Regions from separate parts of the Homo sapiens genome. Here regions 1, 3, 4 and 5 are each linked to region 2. Evidence: promoter capture Hi-C in human tissues and cell types (Jung and others, 2019). All regions are on one chromosome and are shown on one strand. Each heading gives the region's core, a stretch centred on a gene start or on the middle of the fragment in contact. The rest is flanking DNA. Distances are from core to core; before and after follow the strand shown. Region 1 holds the start of MAN1C1 (mannosidase alpha class 1C member 1). Region 2 overlaps STMN1 (stathmin 1). Region 3 holds the start of SH3BGRL3 (SH3 domain binding glutamate rich protein like 3). Region 4 holds the start of CEP85 (centrosomal protein 85). Region 5 holds the start of CNKSR1 (connector enhancer of kinase suppressor of Ras 1).

Region 1 (5,733 bases), core at 627-3,126, 280 kb before region 2:
GAACAGTGATTCCCCTACACTCTCAATGAGGAACAACACAGATGATGACTCTAATGAATGCTGGGTCCCTGCCTGGTTCTCCAAAGACAAGGTTGCCCTTTCCTGCAGTGGGACCCAGTGAGGCGATGCTTGGGTGTTGGAGACATGGGTGAGGCCAGGCCAGGTCTCTGGGCTCCTGCACCCAAATGGGTCACATGCTTATCTCTGATTTGCACAGCTGGCTCCACATCAACCTGCCAACGAAACTCACAAGAGATTGAAATATCTGAATTAGAATTTTATATTTAAGCTGCATATATTTGTGGGATTGGGAAGGATTAGTCATCTCCAGTGACCAAAATGTTTGCACCTGTTACCCACTTTCATTTTCAGTTGAGAGAAAGTTGCATGCCAGGGATATTTAAACATCGAGGGTGGGTCTGCTGTCAGTGGTCTGGCCAGAGGTAGAAGGATGACTGAGTCCCAGCCGCCCATCCCCAGCAGGCCTCAGGGAAGAAGCAAGATTTACGAGGCGAGAGCCTGCCTGGCCCGCTTCTTCTGTCGGGAAAGGCTTCCCTGCAGTATTTTCTGTCTCGTCAACACTGCATTTCATTTTAAATTGCAGCTGAAAGTAGATATTTTCCCTCTTGCCTATTACAAACCTCTTAATTTGTCTCTCCCTCTGCTGTTATTTGTCTCTATAAAGTGTTTTGCATGAAAGACCCACACAGCACAATGTTGCTTCACCCTGGGTTAGGTTTAACAGGAAGGGAAGATGCAGAGACTAAGTCCAAGGAGGAAGATGTGAGGGCCTTGGGGTTGAGGACACGCGTGTCTGGGAGTTGATGCCTGGCTGTTTTTGGAGGTTATCTGTTGCCTGAGTGTCTGTGGGTATGCGGGTGCACATGTCCATGTTTGTACTAATTTACATATATGTCTATGCATACTGTGGTATAATCACTTGGGTGTCCATACCCAAATTAAGTGTATGTTTGAGTGCATGTACACACCCACATGCCAGTCTCTGTGTGCATATAGATCTATGCCCAGACGCACACATGTGCATATAAACACACGTAGGCATCAAGGTAGACGTCCGTCACATTATGTGTGTGGTCTTCTGTAGACACGCCCGGGGCTCTCTTCCTTTCGCTGCTTCTCAAGGCTGCGGTCAGCCTCCCTCCGTGCTCCACCCAGGAGCCCTGGCCCCGTTTAGGGTTGTGGGAAAAGGAAGGCACGCCAGTGGTCTGCGAGGGGGCCAGTGGAAACATCACCTCCGCCGACCCGGCCGCGGTCACAGCTCTCTGGCTTGGCTCCAGCCACCAGCAGCACCCCTGCAGCCCGGCGTTAGCGCTGAGAAGCCCGGGGCAGCCGCCAGGGCGCGGGCTGCCAGCTCCCTGACAACCCCGGGCTGGCACTCGGGGGCGAGAGAGGTCACCCAGCGACGGGCACACCCCTCCAGAGCAACACCGTCTCCGGCCCGCTTCCGGGGGCCACCAACCCGAGCCTCGCGGGCGGGCTGGGGGGTGGTCTCTGTCGCTTGGGGTCCAGCGAAGGCTGGGCAGTAACCAATGGACGACTGTGGCCCAACGGGGATCCCTCGGATGCAGCCAATGCCCTCGTTGCGCTCTCCGCCCCCGCCCTCGCCTGCCCCGCGCCGCTGGACCATTGGCGCCCGCTGGATGGGGGGTGCGCGCGACGCCTGCCCTTCGGGGAGGGCGGGGCTTGGAGCGGGCTGCGCTCCCGCCCGCGCTCGGCCTCTGCCCCGCCCCCGGACGCGCGGCCCTCAGCCGGCTGCGGCGCGGCGGCGGCGGGAGGGGGCGCGGGGCGCGCGCGTGGGCGTGGCCGGCGGGCGTGGCCGGCGGGCGGCAGGAGGCGGGGCGGCGGGCGCTGTCGCAGTGAAAGCCCGAGCGGCGGCGGCGGCGGGGACGGCGGTGGAGGCGGCCGGGTGGCTGTGCGCGCGTGTGGGGCGCAGGCTCGGCGGCAGCGGCCGGTCTGGAGCGGCCGCTGCGAGGAAGACAGCTGCAGCGGGGGAGGCGCGGCCAGGGCTGCGCGCTCCGCGGAGCCGGCGGGGCCGGGAACAGGTGATCCCAGTGGGAGCCCCGCGCCCTGCCGAGTTCGAGGGGCGGGAGCCCGCGCTCCCGGGCGCATCTGCAGCCGCCCAGCCGCGGCTCCGGACCCAGGCATCCCTGCGCTGTCTGGGGCCCGGGGGAAGCCCCCTGCCCCCGCAGGCTCGGAAGTGCCTGCTCCTGCTCCCTGGCCACTCCGGCTCCCAGCTCCCGGCGCCCTCTCCGCGGCGGAGAAAGTTGTGGACGTGTCCCGATAGTCGAGCCCGGGCGCTGTCGCGACCGGGCCGGGTGTGCGCGCGCTCGGGGCGGCGCTGACACGCCAGCCCCCCATCGCCTCGGTCCCCTCCGGAAACTGCTTCTGAAGCTGAAACTTTGGGCGCCTACCAGCGCGGGCGGGAGCCTAGGGGGCGGAGGGCGGCTTGGTGCGGGCCTGCGGGCGCCCCTCGGCGCGGACAGCCGGGACGCCGCGGACGGCATGTGACGGTCCCGGCGGCCGCAGCGCGGGAAGGCGCGGGCCCCGGCGCGGCGGGGAGGGCTCGGCCGGAGGGGAGGCTGCGGCGCGCGGCCGGTCGCTGCGGGCCCGGGCCCCAAGCCGTGCCGCTCCGCTCGCCCGGGCCCCGCCGAGGCCGCTGCGCCCCCGCCTCCTCGCGGGAGGACTCGCTCCAAACTCCCTGAACTTCGGGGACAGTCCCCCGAAGCGGCGAAACTCTCAGGGTTGGCAACCCTGCCCAGGGACCCCCATCCCGGGCGGCGCTCCGGACGCCCTCCCCTCACCGCGCCCCCGCAGACACGTGCCTGGACTCCGAGGGCTTCTGGAGCCACCGGCCGGGCCACGATGCTCATGAGGAAAGTGCCCGGCTTCGTCCCGGCCTCCCCGTGGGGGCTGCGGCTGCCGCAGAAGTTCCTCTTCCTCCTCTTCCTCTCGGGCCTGGTCACCCTGTGCTTCGGGGCCCTCTTCCTGCTGCCCCACTCCTCTCGCCTCAAGCGCCTCTTCCTGGCCCCCCGGACCCAGCAGCCTGGTCTGGAAGTGGTGGCTGAAATCGCCGGCCATGCCCCGGCCCGCGAGCAGGAGCCGCCTCCCAACCCGGCCCCCGCCGCGCCGGCCCCGGGCGAGGATGACCCCAGCAGCTGGGCCAGTCCCCGCCGCAGGAAAGGGGGGCTGCGGCGCACCCGCCCCACTGGACCCCGCGAGGAGGCCACGGCGGCCCGGGGCAATAGCATCCCGGCCTCCAGGCCCGGGGACGAGGGCGTCCCTTTCCGCTTTGACTTCAACGCATTCCGGAGCCGTCTCCGCCACCCGGTCCTGGGAACGAGGGCCGATGAGAGTCAGGAGCCCCAGAGCCAAGTGCGAGCCCAGCGGGAGAAAATCAAGGAGGTATGGACTCAGCCCCCAAACTCCTCCCACCAACTGCCCCCTCTAAGGAGAGAAGACCCTCTGGCGCTCCCACCCCTTTCCCTTGCCTCAGTCACTCCTGGTCCCAGGTCTACTTCTGGCCCTGCAGACTGCACTTTGCACCTTCCCCTTTCCTCCCAAATGTCCCACCTTCTTTCCTCCCTACACAGTTTCCCACCACTCGGGTCAGTTAATCGTCCCCACCGTGACAGATGGCAGCTGAACCCCTAGACCAACTGCCCCCTCACTCCCAGACTCTGGTATGTCGTATCCAACCCCCAGGCCCAGTGAGCTCCACTCCTTCCCTTTGTGGAGTTGCTAATGAGAGTGGAGTTCAGGTTCCTTAGTGCACCCTCTTTTTGCATTTGTGGACACAGAGCCACTGGTCCCATTCTTTTTCACTGTGTGACCTTAAGTCCAAAACCCCTATAGGACCTGCTTACCTAAAAACCCAGGATTTAAGGGGGTATTTGGTGTCCTGCAAATATTTTGTAATCTAGTAAGCAACCTACAAACCAGAGGATGTTGTGCATTCTGTTTCTATTGAGCTTATTGAGCTTCAGAACAATTGTACACAATTGTACATAATTGCATATGATGCAGGAAGAGATGATAAAGCAGTGGTCATATTACAGAAGCTCCGAGGTTATTGGCATAATGAAGCAGATCTTGAGCTGGTTCCCTGTAGGGATTGTACCAGGAGGGATTTAGAAGGATCACTTTAAGTCTGAGTCTTAGTTTAAGAAATCAAAAGCAAACACAGCCTCACAAGGCTTGAAGACAGTTGCCAGCTTGCCACTGCCACTAAATATTCTGCTGGACCACTGTTAGAACTGCCTGCGTGCGGATGGTGCCCAGCAATGCAGAGGGGGCTGCAGTGACACCCCCAGGCCACGAGGGGGCCGTGGGCAAGCTGTGGGCCAGGGTCTCCTCCCTAGAAACGAGAGGATGCTCTCCCCTCCCCATGGACTCAAAGGAAAGAAAGGGCTGCTTCTGCCTGGACTTCTTGATTTGCTGCGAAGAAGTCAGCAGTTCGACCCTGATTTCCAGGAAGAGCAGGCAGCAAGGATCAGGACCTGCCCTGTCAAGACCTGCTCAGAGCCGATGGAGGGCTTAGCCAGATTATCCCCTTCTCCTTGTCTGAACCATCCTCCCTTCCAGCGCCCACCTCTCTTCCACTTCTTATCTTTTCTGTTACTCTGTTTGGAGACTTAACTAGCAATCACAGGACATTTTGTGAAGTTACAGTAGGAAGCCACAGGGAAACTGAGTGCTTGGTGTGTATGTGTGTGTGCATGTTTGTGTGCTCTCAGTTTCCAGATTCCTGTTGAAATCTCAGGTTGAGTGACAGCTGGAACTTGCAGTAGCTAAGTAAGGGGCATTCATTTCTCCCTTTCTTGTTAAGGAACTACGCTGTTGAATACTCACTTGGACCACCCATAGCTCTTTCTCAAAGCTGCTTCTGAGCACAGTGGCTCTTTTTGCCCCTCTCGACCTCCCAGTAGGGCAGTGACCCCCAGTGAAATTACATATAAATTGCATGCATGCAGTTTTTCATGGGGCATCCAGAGGTGCCATCAGATTTTCAAACTGATCCCCCAAAGGATTAAGAATTAACTATCATCTTCCTCAGAAGAGATACTCTCTGTGTTTGCATTTAGATGGTGGTCCATTTCCGAATGCCAGGGGCTGGAGAGTCATGGCAGGAAGGAAGGGCTGGCTAGTAGGGAACTTGATTCTCCCTCTCTGTGTAAGACAATTTATTTTGCCAGCAGAGTCTGGGATGATGCTTGCTGGAGTGGCTGGAGGGTGGGAAGAGGGGTGAGGATTCTGTGCTTTGCAGGTGGGTATAAAATAACATGATGGGAGAAGGTCTAAGTTGGTGACCAGATGTCTGGATCTTTCTAGCTGGTATCTCCTTGCACCCCTGGTACTAGCTGGAGGCATGCTGCATATACTTGGAGTTGGTGTTCAGCTAGCCCTCTCTTACTAATCTTGAAGAAGAGAGGGCTGGTTTCTGTTGTTTTGAAACCTATTGTCTCTTCAGGCTTCCTGCCACTGACCACGCTCTCACGACAACCTGAAAGATGTAGAGTGGGTTTTGGTTTAGTTGTTAACAGTTACCATTCCTGCTGTCCCACCCCAGGAAGAACGCATATGATGGTTGCTGGAGAATGTCTTTATTTCCTTCACATTTAAATTCTATCTGCGTCATGCCCAGGGGTAGATCATTTTAGAAAGGTGCCTGTTTTCACAAAAGGGACTGTTGCTTTCCTCCCTGGTTTGTTTATT
Region 2 (5,178 bases), core at 556-3,055:
CCACCGCTCCTCCTCTTCACTCCAAGCCAGATGCAAAGAATGGGGGAGTGAAAGTTACTTAACTGATCTCCCCCAACCATCTCATTTTATCCAGGAGAAAATGGGGGCCCAGGACTAAGTGCTTCTCCAAAGGTCAAGGTGAAATAGAAAAGCCAGAGCTTCTATTTCTGTGGTAAGATGCATCCCCTTCAGTTTCCTGTGACTTAAGCCTGTCACAAGGCAGGGGCTCAGGATCGCCCTCTGATAGGAAGTCAGGGCCACCATGGGATGGGTGGTAACTGATGAGGCATCCTTTCAGGCCTGTTGATCCTTCCCTTGCTTTCTCCTGAGGCCAGTTTCCCTCCCTAAATGTCTTAGATGAACAAAAGCTCACTGCCACTTGTAGGACACCTCGTATCATTATGCCAAGTTTCTACCCTCAGGCCCTCTTTATATTCCCATCTATTCAGAACTGGTATTTTAAAGATCCCAGAGCACCTGCTATGTGCCAGAGACAGGAGCCAAGATGAACTGTGCTGCACCACTGCACACAAGCCTCATCCTGTCCTCTTGGTTTAGATATTGCTCAGAACCTATTGTTGTATTCAACTATACTTGCACTTGCTCCTATTTGCCCTACATGGGCGTAACTCCTTAAACCAAGCTTTGTTCAGAATTCCTCTGATTGATCATTTAAGTAAATTTAAAAGTCAATTTAAGGAATATAAAAACTGCATAATTTCCAACTCAAGAGTATAAACTTAGATCACTCATTAGCCTCTGGTTGAAAACAGTAATCGTGATTTATACGGAATGCTAAATATCTATGTTCTAAGTGTGCTCTCTTGCCACAAACCCATTTAATCCTAACAATCTTAGGAGGTAAGTTGAGGTAGGCTGTTATTGTTCTCATGAATAAGTTTGGTAAAACCCCAATCTCAAGATACAGCCCAAGCAGCAGAGGCACATGCGTTAGCAACACATGGACCCCACCGCAGTATTAGCAATCATCTTTTGCTATAAGTGCTTGGCTTCCAAGAGCTTTTATACAGATGTCTGAGAGGCACAAAATATGTATAATTAGGCTATTTCTCAAATAGCACAGGAAAGCTGCCAAAGGCGTTCCCTGAATTGAGAGGCAAAGCACTGACAATGGGGACTATTACAGCCTCTGGATACAAGATGACGTATCTGCCAACCTTAACCACCCGAGTCAAATGCTACTTTAGAAATAATTAAGGTTCCCTTTAGTCATTTCACAGGAGTTGCTACAGCAGTACATAAAGTTTTATTAATATTCTGATTCTCGTGTCATAGCTTTTATGGCAGGAAAGGATGAGGACATGCCCCACCTGTAACGTAGAGCAAGCAAACCACCAAGTAGAATCTTGAGATTCTCTCTCAACTGTTCTCTAGAAACACGCTTGTGCTTTTAATCTGCCTTTTAAAAGGGACACAGAACAAAAAATGGTTGTTTGCAAATAAACATCTGAAAGAAAGTAACAGCTGACCTGGGCTGAGGCATCCAAACAAAGCAGTCATTGTGGAAGGAGACAATGCAAACCACACTGGGGCAAGAAACGGGGCAGAGAACGTGCGGTCATTTGTGCGTTGGGTATTTCTACCAGCCCCAAAGGCCCCATCTGGAACAAGTATCAACCAGGAGGGGCTCTATGGCTTGATTTATTAACCTAACTCAAAAGAAGTCACTGCCACCAACAGCACTGTGCAGTTTTATTAACCATTCAAGTCCAGTAGCATCTGGTAAGATTGGGACAGAATTGGGATTGAAAAGTGAACAGATATTCAGCATCTAACAGTTCAAAAGAAGCCACTACATACTCTTTTCACAAATATGTTTTCACAGAGCCAATACAGTACTAGCCATTAACCCAGTACACCAAGTGTACTGAAGTAGAAAAGATGCAACAAGAAAAATAGCTACATTAGAAAGACCAACACTTTAGAAAAAGAGTAAAACACTTTCAGTTTCTCCCCTTTAGCCCCTAAAACAACATCTTACAGTCTGGATCTGGATCTACCTATACAGTCCTACATTAGCTTCTAAAATATTTGTCAGGAGGGAAAAAATAAAATGACACTGGCCAGTACAGTCTTTGGATATTTAGGAAGGGGATGGGGAGAAAGTCAGTTCTCAGAACAAATTAGTCAGCTTCAGTCTCGTCAGCAGGGTCTTTGGATTCTTTGTTCTTCCGCACTTCTTCAATGTGCTTATCCTGTAAAGGAAGGGTAAGGTGTCATCAGTCAAAAAAAAAAAAAAAAAAAAAAGCCTGTCAAGTCACGACCCCCAGCCCCCACCTCAAAGAGGCCCAACACAACCTCAGTGCATATATTACAGCCTGTGGGAACCACACAATTTAAGTTCTGAGACATCATCATCAAATCTCCTGGGTCCCTTGTAGAACCTAACAAGCTGCCTACTGGACTTCCAAGGACTGTGCAATTATGCTGGGAATTACTGAATATTCCATCTTAAAATATACCTTTCATTTAATATGTTAAGCCCCAAAATGGATGACAAAAAGACACCAAACACCTTTTATCAAAGCACTTAGTTCAAGCCAACTCATTGGTGCATCAAACTCCAAGCTCAACCCTTTTACAAAGTAAGAAACCAACCTTCTCTCGCAAACGTTCCAGTTTGGCAGCCATTTGTGCCTCTCGGTTCTCTTTATTAGCTTCCATTTTGTGGGTCAGTTTCTCTTCTGCCATTTTACTGAAGTTGTTGTTCTCTTCTATTGCCTTCTGAAGCACTTCTTTCTCGTGCTCTCGTTTCTCAGCCAGCTGCTTCAAGACCTCAGCTTCATGGGACTGGAAAAAAAAGTTTAATAGGCTAGGCACTCTAAAATGTATTCAGGCTGGGTGTGGTGGCTCACGCCTGTAATCCCAGCACTTTGGGAGGCCAAGGTGGGTGGATCATTTGAGGTCAGGAGTTCAAGACCAGCCTGGCCAACATGGTGAAATCCTACCTATACTAAAAATACAAAAATTAGCCGGGCGTGGTGGCGGGTGCCTGTAGTCTAAGTTACTTGGGAGGCTGAGGCAGAAGAATTGCTTGAACCCGGGAGGTGGAGGTTGCAGTGAACTGAGATCGTGCCACTGCACTCCACCCTGGGTGACAGAGACTCTGCCTCAAAAAATAAAATGTATTCAGCATAAGTTAAAATTACAATAAAAATAATTTACTAAGGGGATTGAAAAGGGGCAGAAAATAAGGTCCCTTTAAATAACACCAAAATTAGGACCTGAATTATCCCTATCATAAAATACTGTGAAAATGATATTCTTTTTCTAGTATTTGTATTTAACTTTGGAAAAGTGCTTATCTGTTCAGAAATCTTACCCAATTAGTCCTTAAGGAAATCCTTGTAAGATTTACTGCTTAATGGTATCTGGATGACTTGAGGAATATGTACTTGCGAGTGGCACTTTTATTGTAAAGAATTTCACTATTTAACTTCAAAAGCTACCCAAAGAAAACTAGCTCATTGTAAAAATTTTAACCATAACTGATAAAACAATGATAGGAAATTCAAGACTAAGTCTGTAGATTACTATTTAAGACAGAAAAATTTGTTTCAAGGAAAAGGCTTATTAGCTTTTGTCTCAGGAAACTGCATTAATTACCAGACCATACCTTGGTATGACCCCTTCAACAGAACAGCTTGTTCTCAAAACACATTGGAACCACTGACTTGCAGGATAACCACAGAGCATCTGACACTGGTTCTATTGATTCTCTTCTGCCAAATCCTAGTCATGATGGGAGTTTCATTATATTTAGCCAGTTACTATGTAAAGCACAGGCTAATGACTACAGGGCCAGGGTTGATGTCTAAAAAGCTTTCCACTGTCCAACCTTTGGTTGTATTGCTTCCTCCTACTCCATGAACTCACACTATTGCATAGAAGACGACTCCTTAGTGTAAGCACTGAGGCTCTTCGGGCGGGTGTGTGTGTATACTACAAATCACTATGCTGGTCTGGGGAAGGTTATTACCTTACCTTTTGTGCCTCACTTGCCCCAGCTTTAAAATCAATCCTATCAGGGTTGTTGAGAAAGGGAGTTAAATGAAAAGTTATGTACAGTTGTTAATGAGTAACATTGAATGGAAAGAAACACACCAAAATGTTAACACTGGTTGCTTCTCGGAAGCGGGATAATGAATACTTTTAATTTCCATTTATAAATTTCTGTATTTCCCAAATTTTCTACAACTAGCATATTAATATTTATTGATTCTTCTGATTAGCTTTTAAAGATAGTTACTTTATAATAGAATTGTTTAGATAAGAGAAAAGCTACCATGATACCAGCTGAGCAACACAATCACACTAGCAATTTAAAATGTTATTGTACAGCTCTCAAAAAACAAAACCAAAGTGCCAAAGAATCATCTGGCAACAAATCTTTTCAAAGAGGAAGCATGAGAGAAGCATGAGCTTTGGTTTAAGATAGACCAGGGCTTGAATTCTGACCCCAACACTTACTAGTTGTATGACTGCAGAAAAACGACTTAACATTCCTGAAACTGTTTCTAATTTCCATTATTTGAGGCAACACCATGTATTAAAGGAGAAAAATATAAACAAAGGAGCGGGCATGTAACAGGAGTTCAATAAATGAGGACTGGTATTTCCTTCCAGTCACTGGCATATGTAATAATCACAGTGTAGCTACAATTCTGTTTTCTTCCTGTTATAGAAATAAAATTGATCTGCCCATTACATAAATTAATATCCTGCTTTCTGTGAATTGCTTCGTTTACCTTGCGTCTTTCTTCTGCAGCTTCTAATTTCTTCTGAATTTCCTCCAGGGAAAGATCCTTCTTCTTTGGAGGGGAAAGGGGGAATTCTGGAACAGATTCTTTTGACCGAGGGCTGAGAATCAGCTCAAAAGCCTGGCCTGAGGCACGCTTCTCCAGTTCTTTCACCTGGATATCTAGAATTGATTATATTTATAATTCAGAAAACCAGGATTCTCCTGTTCTAATAAACTGTACTATAATTTTCTAAAACCCAAATCAATTTAATGTATTAAACTAGGGCTGATGAGGAAAGTTGTGTTTTTTTTCCCCTTTTTATTCCTATCAGTCTACTGACACTAGGGGAAGATGTATTTGCAGGCAAGATATTATTATCTAAATACCATTTCCCAAGGCCAGGTACCATGGCTCA
Region 3 (5,850 bases), core at 3,202-5,701, 380 kb after region 2:
GGTTTCTGGGGTTGGGGAGTGGAGAGTTCAAGAAGACTGAGGATTTGGTGGCCTTCATGCACTAAACAGAGCTGTCAGCAGGGGGCAACCAAGTTCACTGACTGGCCTAGTGCCTAGGAAGGAACCTCCTTGAGTTAGGATTGTCACATGGCCCAGTGTGGGTGGAGGGCCTGGGACTGAAGGACGGACTCTATTCAGACTCTATAAAAATACAATCAAGGTAGGAAGGGAAGGAAAGTGGATTAAGCTGTCAGGAAGAGAGGGAAACAGACAGACATACATGAATAGATGGTTTTTGTAATAAAGTCTGACTCCACTGAGGTGAGAGTTTGAAAAGGCAGGACTTGTTCCAGGGCTGGATCCTCCAGGTTCCAGCTTCTCCAGCCCCCCACCTAGTGGCTACTAGCTGTCATATTGTCTTTCTTACTCTCTTTATTCCTCTGACACACTGTGATCAGGCTGGCTGGTGGCCACTTTTGTCAGGGTGGCAGGGAGAGATTGAAACCAGTGTCTCCTCAGATTTCACGGTTCACATTAAGCCTTCTCTAATAGCCTGGCTAACAGAGTTGGCTGAGGGACTGGCTTGAGATAGAGTTCCTAGGGGCGGGAGCATCTTCTCTGGTTCTTGAACAGAAACTTGGATGCTGATGATTCAGAACCAGTTGAGGGTTGGCTTCCTCTCCAGTGCTAGAGCCCTGTGGGCCCAACCTACCCACAGGAAGAACCAGGCCTGATACTGATAGTGGGAGAAGTGCTAAAAGCCTGTTGGCAGGGGTAGGGTTGGGGAAGGAGGGACACTGCCTATGACTCACCCATCCCTTCCACACCCACACACTCATGCACAGATACTCTTCCTCTCCCTGGGCCTGAGTTAATGTGCTTACCCATCTGTCTGCTCAGCTTTCAGTGCAAAACCAGGACTTGATTGAGAAGAATCTGACACTCCAGGAACACCTGCGCCAGGCCCAACCAGGGTCTCCACCTTCACCAGACACGGCCCAGCTGGCACTTGAGCTGCACCAGGAGTTGGCCAGTTGCCTTCAAGATCTGCAGGCTGTCTGTAGCATTGTGACCCAGAGGGCCCAGGGCCATGACCCCAATCTCTCCCTGCTCCTGGGCATTCACTGTGAGTCCTCAGACCAGTCTGGGGCCCAGGAAGGAGGGTCCTTCTTTCTCTTCTCTCCCCCATCCTGCTTTCCCATATTCTTGTGGTAATATGTAGACAGAGTACATAGTCCTGGCCACTGCCCTCTGGACATTTATTTGTTTCACAAAGTAGGTGTTCACAAATCTGTTTTTGGAAACAAGCTATGGGGTACTTGCATGCAGGACAAACTAAAAGTGGACCTTCAGCAGCAAATTAACCCACTGTCCCCAGATGCTTTTTTTAAAGTGCATGTCCCAAGACTGTGGGTTCAAGATACTGCCTATCCATACTGCACCCTCCACATGAAAATGTCTCATAACTAACATTCTCTTGAAATGCTCTTCTCCCCAGCAGCACAGCACCCAGAGACTCAGCTAGATTTGCAGAAGCCAGATGTGATCAAGAGGAAACTAGAAGAGGTTCAACAGCTGCGTCGTGACATTGAGGACTTAAGGACCACCATGTCAGACAGATATGCCCAGGACATGGGAGAAAACTGTGTCACACAGTGAGGAATTCTGGGGGATTCCCCCAGGGAGGAGCTGGGCTGCTGAGAGCCTAGTCCAGCAGGTTTCTGCCCTGACATTCTCTTGTCTGCTATTCCCAGAGAGGTCTCAGAGGGGAGGGGAGAGCCTGCATCTGGGGGCCAAGGGCTGATTAGGGAACTGTGTCCTACCCACACTGGCATGTTGGATTACGTTTGTCCTGTTAATTCACTCTAGACGGTGAGTTACTAATTAACTTTTGGCAGGTACAACAGATAAGTCCTCACAAACTGTTCCCAGCCCTAGGCTGACATGAGAGACGAACAGGCTGTCCACCTTTCTTCTCCATCCAATGGGATGGATCCATGTTCATTCCCACTTCACACCTTGGTCCTGCTGATTAGAGAGCTCATCAGAGGGGCCTGGAAAGGCTGAGCAAGTACCAGTGACAATGGCCATTTAAGAATTCTCAGGCCCCATGTGCCAGCCTTCTTGGGAACTGAGCTGGCTTTCTGGGTTTTCTCATGCCTGGTCTTACTGCTTCTTCCTCAGGGCTCTTGTTCTCCCAGAAGCCTCAGGGTAATGTGTTGGTTAGCACGTAACTACTAGGATTGGGGCCCTAGGGATTATAGCCAGGACTCTAATCTGCCTACCATGCCATTTAACAAGAGATCCCACTCTCCAGCTGCCTTGTGTCCCTAGGGTCCTGGCCATGTGTTTAGTGTGCTAAACTTTCTCCTTTGTTCTCAGGCCTTCCAGGTAGTCCCCTTCCTGGACTTAAGAGTGCAAACTCTTCTCTGTGGTTCTAGCCTTGGGCAGAATTATATCCCAGAGACCACAGAGCAACTGTCAAGCTGCTTACCCCCTCACCCAGGGCTACAGCCTGTGCCCAGCCCTCTAATTTGTGCCTCTCTTGTGTTGGGGGTGGTGGGGGTTATTCCTTTCCCTTTCCTGCTCTGGCCTCCTTGAAAGTTCAGAGTACCCAGTACAAGTCAGCTTTAAAGTACAGCTTTTAGTGTTTCCTGGGTTGTTTCTCTGGGGCTTTAGTGAGGGACCTTTGCCCTCTGGTTTTTCTTGCCTCCTGGTTTAGGGAGCATCTCACACTTGTTAGTATCTGGTTGTTGGGCCAGCCGTGCCTCCTCTAGATCTGGAGCCAGGCCAGGCAGGGGCCACGTGTGGGCCAGTCAGCCACTACAAGATTTTTGCTAAGCTTTGGGCTGTTGGCAGCATCTTGGACCTCATGCCTGGGCCTGAATGAGGCTCTTTCTTAAGTGTTTTTACAAGTTTGTGTTTTATTTATGGAGTGACTTATCCCTTCCATTCAGAGCAGCCCCACCCAGCCAGCCCTTCAGCCTCTGGGCTCCTGCTGCTTAAAGGCAGAGCCGCCTGGTTGGTCTCCACCCTGTGCATTGGGAGCCCAGCCACCATGCTGACGGGTATTTTTCCTCATAAAGTTTATAACCAGTTATTTATATGAATCTTTGTTATGTCCATTTGTTTGTATTGCGTATTTTGATTATAAAATAAAGTATCTTAACAGACTCCTCAGTTTTCCATACCCTTCCATCACCACCACCACGCTATTCTACCCCTCACTTTGGCTTGTTAGAGCCAAACACCTGGGTGTTCAGCCAGGTCCCCCAGGCAGCAGCGTGGAGGAACCTTTGGCAGGTCCAGCCAGCCTCATGTCCCTATCTATCTCTGCCACCTCTGCTCCTCTGTCGTTCTATAGAACCAGATCTCTTCCCACTCACTTTCTCTTGGGCAAACCTTCCCTGAGTCATAACAGAAGTTTGTCACTGGAAAGTTTCAGCAGTCCTCTCAGGAAGTTGGCAGCCTCTGGGTTGCTGTGAGGAAGTGGCTTTACCAGAGCAAGGGTTGTCTTTCTGGGCTGTTAACCTGCCTGAGCCCTGGACCAGGGGGACATCTGAGAAGCATGATGTTGAGTGCCAGACAGCTAGGTCTCCAAAGTTGGGCTCGTTGCTGGAGTCTGCCCCCTCAACCGCTGAATTCTTGCTGGGAGTAGTAGCAGTTTGGGAATGCCATCTGCAGCATGGAGCTGGGGTTGAGCTTGGACCACCCCAAGACCTGGGGTGGATCTTAAGGGTCAGCTTGAGCCTAGGCTCTCGAGTCCTGACATCATCCTCTACCGCCACGCTTTCCAGCTGTCAGCCTTGGTCTCCATCTGGTTCCTTGAGGGTGTGGCCTCTGCGTCCTGCTATCACCCTTCCTTGTCTAAACCTTCCCACCTGAGTGGAGAGGAACTTGGGGGAAAATCTCTAAGCATGGGCTCTTCCTGCTGTCCTATGCTTCCTATCCCCTAGGGTTAGTGGTGCGTGTTGGGTGGTGGAGCGAGGGATCCCTTGGAGCAAGGTTCTTAGAGAACTTTGGGTCTGAAAGCAGCTCAAACCTTCCAAAGCCCCAAGCTTCCCTGTGCTATTAGAGCACCTCCTCCTGGAGAGAGCGGCTCTCGTGGCTGGGGAGTTGGATGCACCAAACCTGTGTGCGGCTGGAGAGGGAGGCTTCTGCCAGACCCTCTCCCGGGCCTGTCCTGCCACCCAGGCCCCTCCCCAGTCTCACACTGAGCTCCAGATCAGGGAAGGGCCGAAAAGGACGATCAGGGCAGCCGCAGAAGGGGCGCCCTGCGTGGGACGGGTCCGTTGCGCGCCTGGTAACCGAGGGGGAAGGGAAGGGGCCTCTGGCGTGCGGGGCGGTGTCGCGCAGGTCCCACCCCGCCTGCCCGCGCCGCCCATTGGTCCCGAGCGCGATGACTTGGCGGGCGGAGCAGGAAGGAAACCGCTCCCGAGCACGGCGGCGGCGTCGTCTCCCGGCAGTGCAGCTGCCGCTACCGCCGCCCTCTGCCCGCCGGCCCGTCTGTCTACCCCCAGCATGAGCGGCCTGCGCGTCTACAGCACGTCGGTCACCGGCTCCCGCGAAGTAAGTGCGCGCCCGGACTGGCGCTGGGGGAAAGCGCAGGGCTGTATCCCGGTGCTTTGGACCCTAGCGCCCGGGACCCACCCCCAGGACGGGGGCGGGGTGGGGGGAGTGCGTCGGCGAGGTGCTGGGCACGGTCTCCCGGACCCGGTCCCGAGGCCCCATCCTGAATGTCTTCATCGGGCATCCTGGGTCCTTTGCAGCCGCGGCATGAACTTCCCGTGCCCATCCCCCATCAACCCCACACCCATTCTCTGCACTCCCACTACCGGGCTGACCCTGACCACGACCGCAGCCTGCCCTCCCCTCCCCTCCCCACCCTGAGCCTGATCCCACTTCCCTTCACTCTGACCCCCTCCCCCGTGGCTGATAATCCCTCTCTTCATCCTGCACCACCTCAAGCCTGACTCATCCTCCCAACTCCTAGAGGCCAGAACCCTCCCCTAGTGTGGAGGGGAATGGGGGGACAAAAGCTCCTGGTCACAGCCTCTCTCACCCTGCCCAGCATTTCCCCCATAAATCCTCCAGCCTATCCACTAACCCCTACCCACCCTCTGTCCCCAGATCAAGTCCCAGCAGAGCGAGGTGACCCGAATCCTGGATGGGAAGCGCATCCAATACCAGCTAGTGGACATCTCCCAGGACAACGCCCTGAGGGATGAGATGCGAGCCTTGGCAGGCAACCCCAAGGCCACCCCACCCCAGATTGTCAACGGGGACCAGTACTGTGGGGTATGGGCTGGGGGACGGGGGGGTGGGGGGAGTGTTGGAAGAGGACTCTAGCCAGGGTCATATCTGCCACAAAGCACTTGGGCCCCCTGCATTCAGGTGACCACCCCTCGCCTCCCCTTCTCCAGGACTATGAGCTCTTCGTGGAGGCTGTGGAACAAAACACGCTGCAGGAGTTCCTGAAGCTGGCTTGAGTCAAGCCTGTCCAGAGTTCCCCTGCTGGACTCCATCACCACACTCCCCCCAGCCTTCACCTGGCCATGAAGGACCTTTTGACCAACTCCCTGTCATTCCTAACCTAACCTTAGAGTCCCTCCCCCAATGCAGGCCACTTCTCCTCCCTCCTCTCTAAATGTAGTCCCCTCTCCTCCATCTAAAGGCAACATTCCTTACCCATTAGTCTCAGAAATTGTCTTAAGCAACAGCCCCAAATGCTGGCTGCCCCCAGCCAAGCATTGGGGCCGCCATCCTGCCTGGCACTGGCTGATGGGCACCTCTGTTGGTTCCATCAGCCAGAGCTCTGCCAAAGGCCCCGCAGTCCCTCTCCCAGGAGGA
Region 4 (5,445 bases), core at 149-2,648, 330 kb after region 2:
GATCCACCTGCCTGGGCCTCCCAAAGTGCTGGGATTACAGGCGTGAGCCACCGTGCCCGGCCAGGACTAACACTTTCTAGCTTTCTACCCTTCAGTCCATAAATTTATTCATTTAGACACCCTGTCTTAACATTTTTTTTTTTAGCCTTTACGTTAACAGAGGCTTCTGGTCCTAATTTCATATCATACCCAGGTTCATTTTCATTATCCATTAAATCTGCTATTTTATGTCTTCTATATTCTTATCTTAAAATACTAAAAGAGAGGACAAAGGATACAACCTTGGGGCACATCCCTAGGGTCTTTCCTCTAGAGTGACTTTTATTCAGTAATGAACTCACTTTGTCTGGCTCTTAAAGCTAAGAAATTATACAACTTTTTTTTTCCATACAACTTTTTTTTGGAGTGCAGGGGCACGATCTCGGCTCACTGCAACCTCCGGCTCCCTGGTTCAGGCGATTCTGCTGCCTCAGCCTCCCGAGTAGCTGGGATTACAGGTATGCGCCACCACACCCAGCTAATTTTTGTATTTTTAGTAGAGACGGGGTTTCACCATATTGGCCAGGATGGTCTCGATCTCCTGACCTCGTGATCCGCCCTCCTCTGTCTCCCAAAGTGCTGGGATTACAGGCATGAGCCACCGCGCCCGGCCTCCTATACAATTTTTTAGTATCTCTCCCTGCCAAGTCAGGTTTCTAGATACCCAGAATTTCACTATCTGAGATTCATTCCTTTGGCTGATGGTTCTGTTCTCCTTTCAAACAATTTTCCTGTCTGACTCTTCAAGCGCATATTAATGCAAATGGACTTAACAGTTCCTTTTCCTGTGGACCAAGTTTGGGGAGGGAGGCAGGACTGATCCTTTACCCTTCAACCTGAACCTTGGTCACAGGCTGACCACTGCGTCCAACCCAGACCAAGCCTTGACCCTGACTAGTCAGTGACCCAGGCCACACCCTAACTCCTGGTCACAACCTGAACCCCTGCTTCAGGTGTGAGAACTGATAGACCGGCGTTGGAATGGAAGGAGGGTGAGGCAAGCTGAGTGGGATTCTCGTGTCCCCAGCCCCGCCCGCGGGCCGCCAGCTTCCCAACCTGCACAGGCCCAGCAGGGCCCCTCCAGGTCTAGGTGAGCAGAGCTCCACCTACAGGTAAAACGCGGCAAGGGGCAGAGAAGGAGCCAAGTGGCGACGTGGTCATGCGCAGAAAGATCCGTCCGGCTCTCTGAGCAGAGGGTAGCGTGTGGGGGCGGGATACCGACGCGGCTCGGCTGCCGATTGGTCAGAAGAGGATAGAAAGGGGCGGGAAGCCGGCGCGGCTCGACTCCCGATTGGCCAGAGGCGGCAGAACGGGGTGGGGCCAAACGACGCGCGTTCTGTGGCGCGCGGCCTGGCGGGCGTGCAACGGCCGTTAGAGGAGCTGAGGGAGGGAACCACCGCTCACCGCAGACGTGGTGGCTGCAGTCAGTCTTCCCGAGTGAGGGATTTCGCCGCCCGCTTTCAGGCCCGTGTAAGTTTTCCTCCTTCGGGAGCCTCAGTCCTAGTGGCCGACCTTGCCTCTCCTCCCATAGCTCCGGCGAAGCCTCAGACGCTCGCGACCTGCCACCGTGAGGGGCCGGGGAGAGCGAAGCGCATGCGCCTCGGCTCCGAAGCCAGTGCCCCGGCATACGCCCTCTCGCGTCCCATTCCCCTCGCTTCCCCCGTTGCCTTGCTTTGCCGTCCGTGGTTCACCCCACGGCAGTCACTTTACCTGCGTGCCAGGCCCTGTGCCGATAGCCAGGGACACAGCGAGCGGCGCATTCCTTGCCCTTGCGGAGCGCACAGCCCTGGGAGTCGACGTTAAGCGGGGTAATCCCTCGGCGCGCAGTGAGGGTAGAGTGGAGAAATCTTACAAAGAGCGCAAAACAGAAGGCGCGGATCTAGTCGGAGAGGTCAGGGAGCCCTCCCCGAGGAGGAGAAGTTTGAGCCGAGATTGGAAGGCTGTGTAGAGAATTAAGGTTGTGGGACGGAAAGCACTTGGCGGGGCCTTACCCCGGTACTTCTCGGCCGGGGCGATTTTGCTTCCCTGGGGACATTGGTCGATGTCTGGAAACACTTTTGATAGTCACAGCTCCAGGGCTTGCTACTGGCATCTAGTGCGAAGAAGCCAGGGATGCTGTTACACAGCCTACTGTGTGTAGGACGCCCCCAACAACAAAGAAAAATCCCCCAAAATGTCAGTAGGGCGGAAGGTGAGGAAGCTTCCTTCAGCGAGAAGGAGCTGGTGCTTTGGTTGAACTGAAAGTTAGTGTGTTCAGGTTTATTTGTTCAACAGTATATTCAACGCTTACTTCACCTCAGTTAATGAGAGCGATCCTTTACACCAGTACATTCCCAACACGTGGCTCAGAGCCAGGCGCATAGTAGGCACGCAGTAAATTTCGGTTGATGAATTGAACACTGGGATAAGTAGGGGGCGGTGGTGATACAAGGACGATGAAGCTAGCCAGGCCTCATTTATTTGCCCTCAAACCTTGTCTGCTTTATAGTGATCTGGTGGTTTTGTATGTCTCACGACTTTTCTTTGTAAAGGCAACTTCTTGTCAAGGATTTGGCTTCTCTTTCACAAGGTTTAATGAATGATCAAGGCGGTGAAAATAGTGTAATGGTGTGAGATCCTTCGTGTGTCTGTGTCAGCTGTCTGTGTATCCCTTCAAATCCTCTCTTGTCTTGATGTGGTTCTCTTAACAGCTGCCAAGCATGATGTTCCACACTTAGATTGTAATTCTTTTTTTTTTTTTTTTTTTTGTGAGACGGAGTTTTGCTCTTGTTGCCCAGGCTGGAGTGCCGTGGCGCGATGTCGGCTCACCGCAACCTCCGCCTCCCAGGTTCAAGCGATTCTCCTGCCTCAGCCTCCCGAGTAGCTGGGATTACAGGCATGCGCCACCATGCACGGATAATTTTGTATTTTTAGTAGAGACGGCGTTTCTCCATGTTGGTCAGGCTGGTCTCAAACTCCCGACCTCAGGTGATCCGCCCGCCTCGGCCTCCCAAAATGCTGGGATTACAGGCGTGAGCCACCACGCCCGGCCACACTTAGATTGTAATTCTTATAGGGGAAAAATACTTACGGCAGTCAAAATCTAATTCTTGGGTAGCAACTTGAGAAATAAAGCCTAGGTGATGACCAAGGACAAAGTGAAGAAATTTTATGAGCTTTTACTGCTCATATAATTGAGGCTTGCAGCTCTAGCTGTCTGAGGCAGAAACTCCAACTTGTGGTGCCATGCTTGATCTCTTTTTTTGTGTTTTGTCACATGTAGAATGCTGACTAGACTACTGTAGCGTTAGAGTACAGTCCTGGCTTTGAAGCCTCTTCCTAGCCATATGACCTTCACTACTGTAAACCTTTATTTTCTCATCCATAAAATGAGGATAATAGTAACTGCCTCATAGGGTTGATGTGAACATGAAACATGAGACATGATACTTAAAAAGTGTTGAGCACAGTGTTTGATAGGTAGTAAGTGCAGAATGCATGTTAAATTTGTTGAATGAGTGACTGTTTCTGTAGTTTAAAGGGCTTTGAAGATGGAAACCAATCCTGTTGGGTGCTTTTTTTTTTTTTCCCCTCTGTCTGCCTCCATTCACTCCCTTTCTAAGCTTTATAACTGGTGTGTTACTTCTTGTACATTCACTTCTCTCATTTTTATCCCAGGAAATTTCTGTCTCCTTCAGTTGTCCCAAAAATTTCCACCAGTAGCTCATCTAATTCTTAAGTCAAGAATGATTTATTTTGTATTGTTTTACTCCTTACGGGGTTTCTTTCTTTCTGTTTTTCTTTTTTGAGATATTTGTTGTCAATGAGGGTCAGACTCTGAAATATTTGAAGGGATTTATTCTGAGCCAAATATGGGTGACCAGTGGCCCCTGACACAGCCCTCAGGTGATCCTGATAACGTGTGCCCTGGTTTTAAACATTTTAGGTAGACATGAGACATCAGTCAAATACATGTAAGATTTACATTGATCTGGAAGGGTAAGACAACTCTTAGTGGGTGGGGGCTTCCAGGTCATAGGTAGATTTCAAAATTTTCTGATTGGCAGTTGGTTGAAAGTTGTTATCAATAGAAAGGAATGTCTGGGTTAAGGTATCCTGGGGATCAACATTTTATTGTACAGATGAAGCCTCCAAATAGTAGGCTTTAGAGAGAATAGATTATAAATGTTTCTTACAGACATCTGTGTTAATGTTAATGCTTTTCCTAAATTCCAGAAGGGAGGAGGGTATAATGAGGGGTGTAGGACTCCACCACCACTACCACCATCATGGCCTTAACAGGTTTTTCAGCTTAACTTTGGAATGCCATTGGCCAAGGGGAGGGATCCATTCAGGTGGTTGGGGATGTCTTAGAATTTTTTTTTTGGCTTATATCACATAACATAAAATTTAATTTTATGTGTGTGCAATTCAGAGGTTTTTAATATATTGGCAAGGTTGTGCAGTCAGTCACCACTATCTAATCTCAGAACATTTTGATCACCCTGAAAAGAAACCCGGTATCCATTAGCAGTCCCTTCCTATTCTCCTACCCTCCCTCCTCTCAGTCCTTTGCAATCACTAATCTGTGTCTCTATGGATTTGCCTATTCTGACATTTCATATAAATAGGATCAAGCCTTTTGTTTGGCTTCTTTGACTTTGCATGTCTTCAGTGTTCATCCATGTTGTCACATGTATCAGTACTTCCTTTTATTGCTGAATAATACTCTGTTTTTTGGATATACCACATTTTATGTATCCATTCATTAGCTCATGGACGTTTGTGTTGTTTCCACTTTTTGGCTATTGTAAATAATGCTGCTACGAACATTCTTATTGAAGCTTTTGTGTAAACCTGTGTTTTCATTTCTCTTGGGTGTATACTTCAGTGTGGAATTGCTGAGTCATAGGGTAACTCGGAGTTCTCCTTCTGTCACCGTATTTTCAACTTGTCTGAATTTAGAAACACCTTAGAATCCAGTGCGCCTACCATTTTGTTATCCTTTAAAGAAAGGAGTGAAGAAAAGGATTTTGATATTGACAAGAAAGGAAATCACTAGTAAGGAGGTAATCTAATCATTCTATGTCATCATTTAACTCACTGAATCATACTTGCCATAAACTAAAGCTTTTATTACTGAACAAAGCTTCCCTCACCCAGTATGTGAAGAACTGGAATTGTGGAGGATGATACCCTTTCTATTGTAGATGCAGTGAATTAATAAGGGTTTGGGTTGTTATGTACTTTAGTGACCTCTATAGTATTCTCTTAGTAACAAGAGAATACTATAGAGGTCACTAAAGTACATTAGAGAAATAGTACCATATAGTCTTTTTTCTCCAGAGTGATAGAATTATGTTCTGTGAATTGTCCCAAACTCTTTTTTTTTTTTTTTTGAGACGGAGTCTTGCTCTGTCGCCCAGG
Region 5 (5,634 bases), core at 1,397-3,896, 280 kb after region 2:
CAGGCATGAGCCACCGCGCCCGGCCTTTTTTTTTTTGAGGTGGAGTTTCACTTTTGTTGCCCAGGCTGGAGTGCAATGACGCGATCTCAGCTCACCGCTACCTCTACCTCATGAGTTCAAGCAATTCTCCTGCCTCAGCCTCCCGAGTACCTGGGATTACAGGCATGTGCCACCACACCCGGCTAATTTTGTATTTTTAGTAGAGATGGGGTTGCTCCATGTTGGTCAGGCTGGTCTCGAACTCCTGACCTCAGGTGATCCGCCCGCATAGGTCTCCTGAAGTGCTGGGATTACAGGCCTGAGCCACCACGCCCGGCTGATTTTATCTGATTCTAAAGTCCTGGGAGTCCCCTGACCTGATGATGATGATGAAAATGAACATTTACTATGTGTCAGATATTTTTCTAAGATTAAAGCTCTTGCTCTGAGGTTCAGAATTCAGGGGATCCATAAACTTGGATGGGAAAAAATTATATTTTTATTTTTGCTAAACTCTAACCAAAATTTATGATTTCCTTCTATATGGATTGAAGCAGTAGCAGTATCTTTGGCTTAGTCACCAATAGAAATCACATATTTTCATATCAAATTGTAGTTATTGCAAGTATCTCAAAATATTTATGCTCAAGTGATTTCAAAATCACAGTGGTTGTTAAACCACCACTAAATTGTTCGTGAGCAACTTCTGTTTCAGATGCTCCTGTGATGTAGCCGCCATTAATTGGTTACCTCCAGGCTTAGCAGTGGTTCAGTGACCAAAGGGCGAATCTGCCTGTTCTGAGTAGGGCTTCTCCACTCTTCTGCATTCCCTGTCTTTTTTTTTTTTTTTTTGAGACGAAGTCTTGCTCTGTCGCCCAGGCTAGAGTGCAGTGGCGCGAACTCGGCTCACTGCAAGCTCTGCCTCCTGGGTTCACGCCATTCTCCTGCCTCAGCCTCCTGAGTAGCTGGGACTACAGGCGCCCGCCACCATGCCTGGCTAATTTTTTGTATTTTTAGTAGAGACGGGGTTTCACCATGTTAGCCAGGATGGTCTCGATCTCCTGACCTCATAATCCGCCCGTCTCGATTATAGGCGTGAGCCACCATGCCCGGCCCAGCATTCCCTGTTTTTAGTTGTTTGCTGATCAATATGTAAGAGGAGGGGCGTCAAAGACCACCCCACAGTTTAATGTCCTTATTCAAGCTGGTCGACAACACACTGAGGTCATTAAAAAAGAAAAATTTAACTTTCGGCCAGTCTTATTAATGTTAGTAAACACATAATATAAATTTCTGGTTTTATTTTTTTGAGATGGGCTCCTGCTATGTTGCCCAGGGTGGCTTTGACTCCTGGGCTTGAGTGATACTCCCCCGCTCAACCTCTCAACCTCTCGAGTAGCTGGGACTACAGTCGTGTGCCAGCACTCCCCAGCTCCAAATTTTTTTTTTGTTTTTTGTGGGTTTTTTTTTTGAGACGGAGTCTTGCTTTGTTGCCAGGCTGGAGTGCAGAGGCGTGATCTCAGCTCACTGCAACCTCCGCCTCCCAGGTTCAAGCGATTCTCCTGCCTCAGCCTCCTGAGTAGCTGTGACTACAGGCGTGCACCACCACACCCAGCTAATTTTTGTATTTTTAGTAGAGACGGGGTTTCACCATGTTGGGCAGGCTGGTTTCCATCTCTTAACCTCATGATCCACCCGCCTTGGCCTTCCAAAGTGCTGGAATTACAGGCGTGAACCACCATGCCCGGCCAAATTTGTTTTTAAATATAGTTTTGATAATTGTTCTCATTGTAATCCTAAGCATTTTGTTTTGTGCATTTATTTATTTATTTATAATACAGAGTTTTGCTCTGTTGCCCAGGCTGGAGTGCAGTGGCACGATCTTGGCTCACTGGAACCTCCCCCTCCTGGGTTCAAGGGATTCTCCTGCCTCAGCCTCCTGAGTAGCTGGGATTACAAGCACCCACTACGCCCAGCTAATTTTTTGTATTTTTAGTAGAGATGGTGTTTCACCATATTGGCCAGGCTGGTCTTGAACTCCTGATCTCAAGTGATCCGCCCACCTCGGCCTCCCAAAGTGCTGGGATTACAGGCGTGAGCCACCGCGCCCGGCCTGTTTTATGCCTTTATAAGCAGCTATTCTGAGAAAGCATTCACAGGCCTCACCAGATGCCAGAGTCCATACTGCAAAATCCAAGGGAGGCTAAACACCCCAGTTCTAAATGTTTTCAAGCCATTCAGATACTGTGCACAGCTGCCCTTTGAAGTACGGTCTATTATATCTCTTTTACAGACCCAGAAACTGAGGCGCAGAAGTTAGGGTCAGCCCCAGGTCACACAGCTAACAAGAGCTGGCCTAGGCACCCAGGGACCTGGCCCCCTAGCCTCTGTGCTTTGCTACTGATTTCAGCGCTCCTCTTGTGGCTTTTTCTTGAGGAGCCCAAGGGTCAGGGTCCCACCCCGCGATATGAGGCCAGTGGCACTGCCCCCTAGCAGGCGCGAGATGCCAGAGCCCTAGGATGTCTGAAGGGCCGGGCAGGAGGCGGACGGGCGTGGGCCAATGGCTGTCGCAGTGCCTCATCTTGCCGTCTGTGTGAGCCCAGGTATGCAGTAGGCTCCGCCCAGGACCCAGCCCGGCCCCTCCTTAGGCCTGGGCTCTGGGAGCGGAAATTCCGGCGACAGCAGGGCAAAACAGGAGCTGATTCGAGCTGGCAGAGCTGGGCCATGGAACCGGTAGAGACCTGGACCCCCGGAAAGGTGGCAACTTGGCTGAGAGGTGGGTGGGGCTGGGGTAGAGTTGGGCTTGAAGGGGACTAGGTGTGGTGTCCCACCGGGAAGCGGGAGGAGAGGAAAAGGAAAAAAAATCTGCGGACTGGGTGCGCTGGTTCACACCTGTAATCCCAGCACTTTGGGAAGCCAAGGTGGGTGGGTCACCTGAGGTCGGGAGTTCAAGACCAGCATGGTGAAACCCCGTCTCTACTAAAAATACAAAAATTATCTGGGGGTGGTGGCAGGTGCCTGTAATCCCAGCTACTTGGGAGGCTGAGGCAGGAGAATCGCTTGAACCCAGGAGGCAGAGGTTACAGTGAGCCGAGATTGCACCGCTGCACTCCAGTCTGGACGACAGAGCGAGATTCAGCTCAAAAGAAAAAAAAAAATAATAAACTGCGGGCTCTATCAGTCGGTCAGTCAGTCAACAAATATTTACAGAGCACCTAACATGTTCCAGGAACCGTGCTGGGCAGAGAGACAGATGAGATGACCCTGGGGGGCCCAAGGACCCAGAAGGGGGCCCCTCATCATGGCAGTAGCCCAAGAGGCCTCTAGGGTGATAATGGGGAGGCGGTGTCATGAAAACAGGAGGGAGGCCTGACAGGCCCACACCCACTGTATCTCCTTCATCTTCCCTGGCCCCAGGGCCAGTGGGCTGTTGTTAAATCCGTTTCTTAGAGTCAGAAACTGACACACAGAGCCAGGAAATGATTTGCTCAGTCTCTGGTGTCATTTTCCCCGCTCCACACCCTGAGCTCCTAGTGACAGAAGCAGAAGCCCTAGGCCAGACTGAAGAGGTTGACACAGCCCCACCCTGGGGCTCCTATCCAAGGGGCAAGGTGCTGTCCAGGCTCAGCGAGCCCACACAGATGGGAAGCAACACACCCCACAGGCAGACTCAGAGAAGGAAGGGCCTCCTGACACACAGTGCGACCAGGAGCAGGCAGTCAGGACACCCCTCCCAGAGTGGGGAGCTGGAGCGCACTAGAGACAGGCTCAGGAGGACCAGCCCGGGTAAGGGCAGGAATTCAGGGCTGGGTTCAGACTCCCAGGCTGGATTCCAGGCCCACCCCCACCGCTTGCCAGCTCTGTGACCATAGGTCTTAGTTTTTCTGTCCATCAAATGGGAAAGGCAACTCTGACCTTATGAAGTCGACAAAGTGAGACAATCATGACATAGTTCATTTGTAGCTCAATGCCTGGGTCTATTGGGAGGGCACCAGCCCAATACAGTCACCGTGCAGGAAGGAGGTGGCTCAGGGGCCCATAGCCAGGGAGTGATAGGTTCATGAACTCCCAGTCCAGTGCTCTCAATGTGACACAGGGAACACACACACACACCTCCCCCAGTGAAGGAGCCTGGCTTAGAAGGGGAAGAATTCCTTCGAAGAGTGAGCAAGCTACTTAACCTCTGTGTCAGTTTTCCCATCTGTAAGCAGGATAATGATAGTCTTTACCTCCTAGAAATGCAGTGAGAATCAAATGTGTTAATATGTGTAAAGCTCTTATAGATTTGCATAGCACATAGTAAGCCCTCAATAGACACTTTTCTTATTTTTCAGTGCCTACCTTGTCCAGGCACAGGCCGGGGGTTAGAGACAAATGGTTATCTAAGGCCTGATCTTTGAAGAGCCTGTGATAAAATGGGAAAGACCGATGGTCAAGTGCAGGGGTTTGTGGAGGCTCAGGGGCAGTGGGAACAAGAGGAGAGCCCTCCATCCCACTCAGCCTGGGAAGTTATGGAAGGCTTCCTGGAGGAAGTTAGATGAAAAAGGAAGTGAAGGAGATAGAAGAGCAACGCCAGCAGGAGGAATAGCACTTGCAAGGACGCTGAGGTAAAAGGGTGTTCCAGGAGCTGCAAGGAATTAGCTCTGTGCATCTGAAATGTTGAGTTTAGGGGGCTCTTCAGGATATGATGCTGGAAAGGGAGGTAGTAGCCTAATCATACAGGGCCTGTAGGTCATGGTAAAGTCTGGCAATAATAATATGATGGCTATTATTGGCTGTCTCCCACGAACCAGACAGTGGCCAAGGCCTTGACATATGTTGTGTCATTCAATACACACATGATTAGAAGGTAGGTACTTTTATTATTCTCACATTACAGGTGAGAAAACTGGGCACAGAGCAGTGCTATTACTTGCTCAAGTGTTCACAGTGTCTCAGTGACTCCATAGCCTCTTGTTCTTATCCCCTGTATCATTAGTTCTCAAACTTAAGGGAGCATCACAGTCACCTGCATTAAAATACAAACTGCTGGCTGGGCGTCGTGGCTCACACCTGTAATTCTAGCACTTTCAGAGACTGAGGCAGTCAAATTGCTTGAGCCCAGGAGTTCGAGACTAGCCTGGGCAACATGGTGAAATCCCACCTCTGCAAAAAATACAAAAATTAGCTGGGTGTGGTGGTGTGTGCCTGTAGTCCCAGCTACTTGGGAGGCTGAGGTGGGAGGATGGATTGAGCCTAGGAGGTCAAGGCTGCAGTGAGCCGTGACTGTGTCTCAAGCCCCTGTCTCAAAAAGAAAAAACAAAACAAAAACAAAAAAAAGACTGCTGGGCCCCAACCTCAGAGTTTCTGATTCAGCAGGTGTGGGGTGAGGCCTGATAATTTGCATTTCTAACAAGTTCTCCGGTGAGTCTGCTGCTGCTGGTCTGGGGGCCACTTTTAAGAACCCATGTCCTATACTTTCCTGCTTCTCAACTCAGTGGCCTCATCTGTGAAATGGGCAGAACAGCCTGGGTGTCAGAGTTGTCATTAGGGTTAGACTAGAGGGAAAAGAGCTTTGCAGGCATGAAGAACCATCCCAAAAGGTCCTGACACCTCTGCTTCCCCGAGCTGAGCCTTACTCTCCCTCCAGGTCTTGACGACTCCCTGCAGGACTAT

What was found. Contacts are between HindIII fragments. The study calls those that stand out against the background at their distance.
Region 1: the fragment with the promoter of MAN1C1 here is called in contact with a fragment that was not itself captured in region 2 in 1 of the 25 tissues and cell types used here (dorsolateral prefrontal cortex).
Region 3: a contact is called between the fragment with the promoter of SH3BGRL3 here and a fragment that was not itself captured in region 2, in 4 of the 25 tissues and cell types used here (bladder, dorsolateral prefrontal cortex, lymphoblastoid cells and 1 more).
Region 4: the fragment with the promoter of CEP85 here is called in contact with a fragment that was not itself captured in region 2 in 2 of the 25 tissues and cell types used here (dorsolateral prefrontal cortex and hippocampus).
Region 5: the fragment with the promoter of CNKSR1 here is called in contact with a fragment that was not itself captured in region 2 in 1 of the 25 tissues and cell types used here (dorsolateral prefrontal cortex).

The regions. Positions count from the first base shown.
Region 1 is chr1:25,614,915-25,620,647 of GRCh38, forward strand. It overlaps MAN1C1 (mannosidase alpha class 1C member 1), which reads left to right and starts at 1,877. Exons shown (of 12, transcript NM_020379.4): 1 at 1,877-3,423. The coding sequence starts at 2,884. RefSeq lists enhancers at 1,143-1,312, 5,519-5,568 and silencers at 1,503-1,792, 1,813-2,102. The HindIII fragment of the contact is 13,132 bases long and covers 1-5,733 here.
Region 2 is chr1:25,898,872-25,904,049 of GRCh38, forward strand. It overlaps STMN1 (stathmin 1), which reads right to left. Exons shown (of 5, transcript NM_005563.4): 3 at 4,770-4,942; 4 at 2,620-2,811; 5 at 1,245-2,216. The coding sequence ends at 2,145. Among named protein-coding and RNA genes, the nearest start is that of STMN1, 5.0 kb to the right of the region's middle. The HindIII fragment of the contact is 6,597 bases long and covers 1-5,104 here.
Region 3 is chr1:26,275,635-26,281,484 of GRCh38, forward strand. SH3BGRL3 (SH3 domain binding glutamate rich protein like 3) reads left to right here and starts at 4,452. Exons shown (of 3, transcript NM_031286.4): 1 at 4,452-4,569; 2 at 5,131-5,298; 3 at 5,424-5,850. The coding sequence starts at 4,522. The coding sequence ends at 5,489. It overlaps CEP85 (centrosomal protein 85), which reads left to right. Exons shown (of 14, transcript NM_001319944.2): 13 at 901-1,126; 14 at 1,502-3,174. The coding sequence ends at 1,659. RefSeq lists enhancers at 223-1,422, 3,973-4,860, 4,861-5,747 and silencers at 4,236-4,807, 4,284-4,733. The HindIII fragment of the contact is 5,211 bases long and covers 675-5,850 here.
Region 4 is chr1:26,232,802-26,238,246 of GRCh38, forward strand. It overlaps CEP85 (centrosomal protein 85), which reads left to right and starts at 1,399. Exons shown (of 14, transcript NM_001319944.2): 1 at 1,399-1,509. RefSeq lists enhancers at 1,598-1,747, 2,068-2,127, 2,218-2,267. The HindIII fragment of the contact is 8,629 bases long and covers 1-2,940 here.
Region 5 is chr1:26,174,845-26,180,478 of GRCh38, forward strand. It overlaps CNKSR1 (connector enhancer of kinase suppressor of Ras 1), which reads left to right and starts at 2,647. Exons shown (of 21, transcript NM_006314.3): 1 at 2,647-2,755; 2 at 5,609-5,634. The coding sequence starts at 2,704. The HindIII fragment of the contact is 12,765 bases long and covers 1-5,634 here.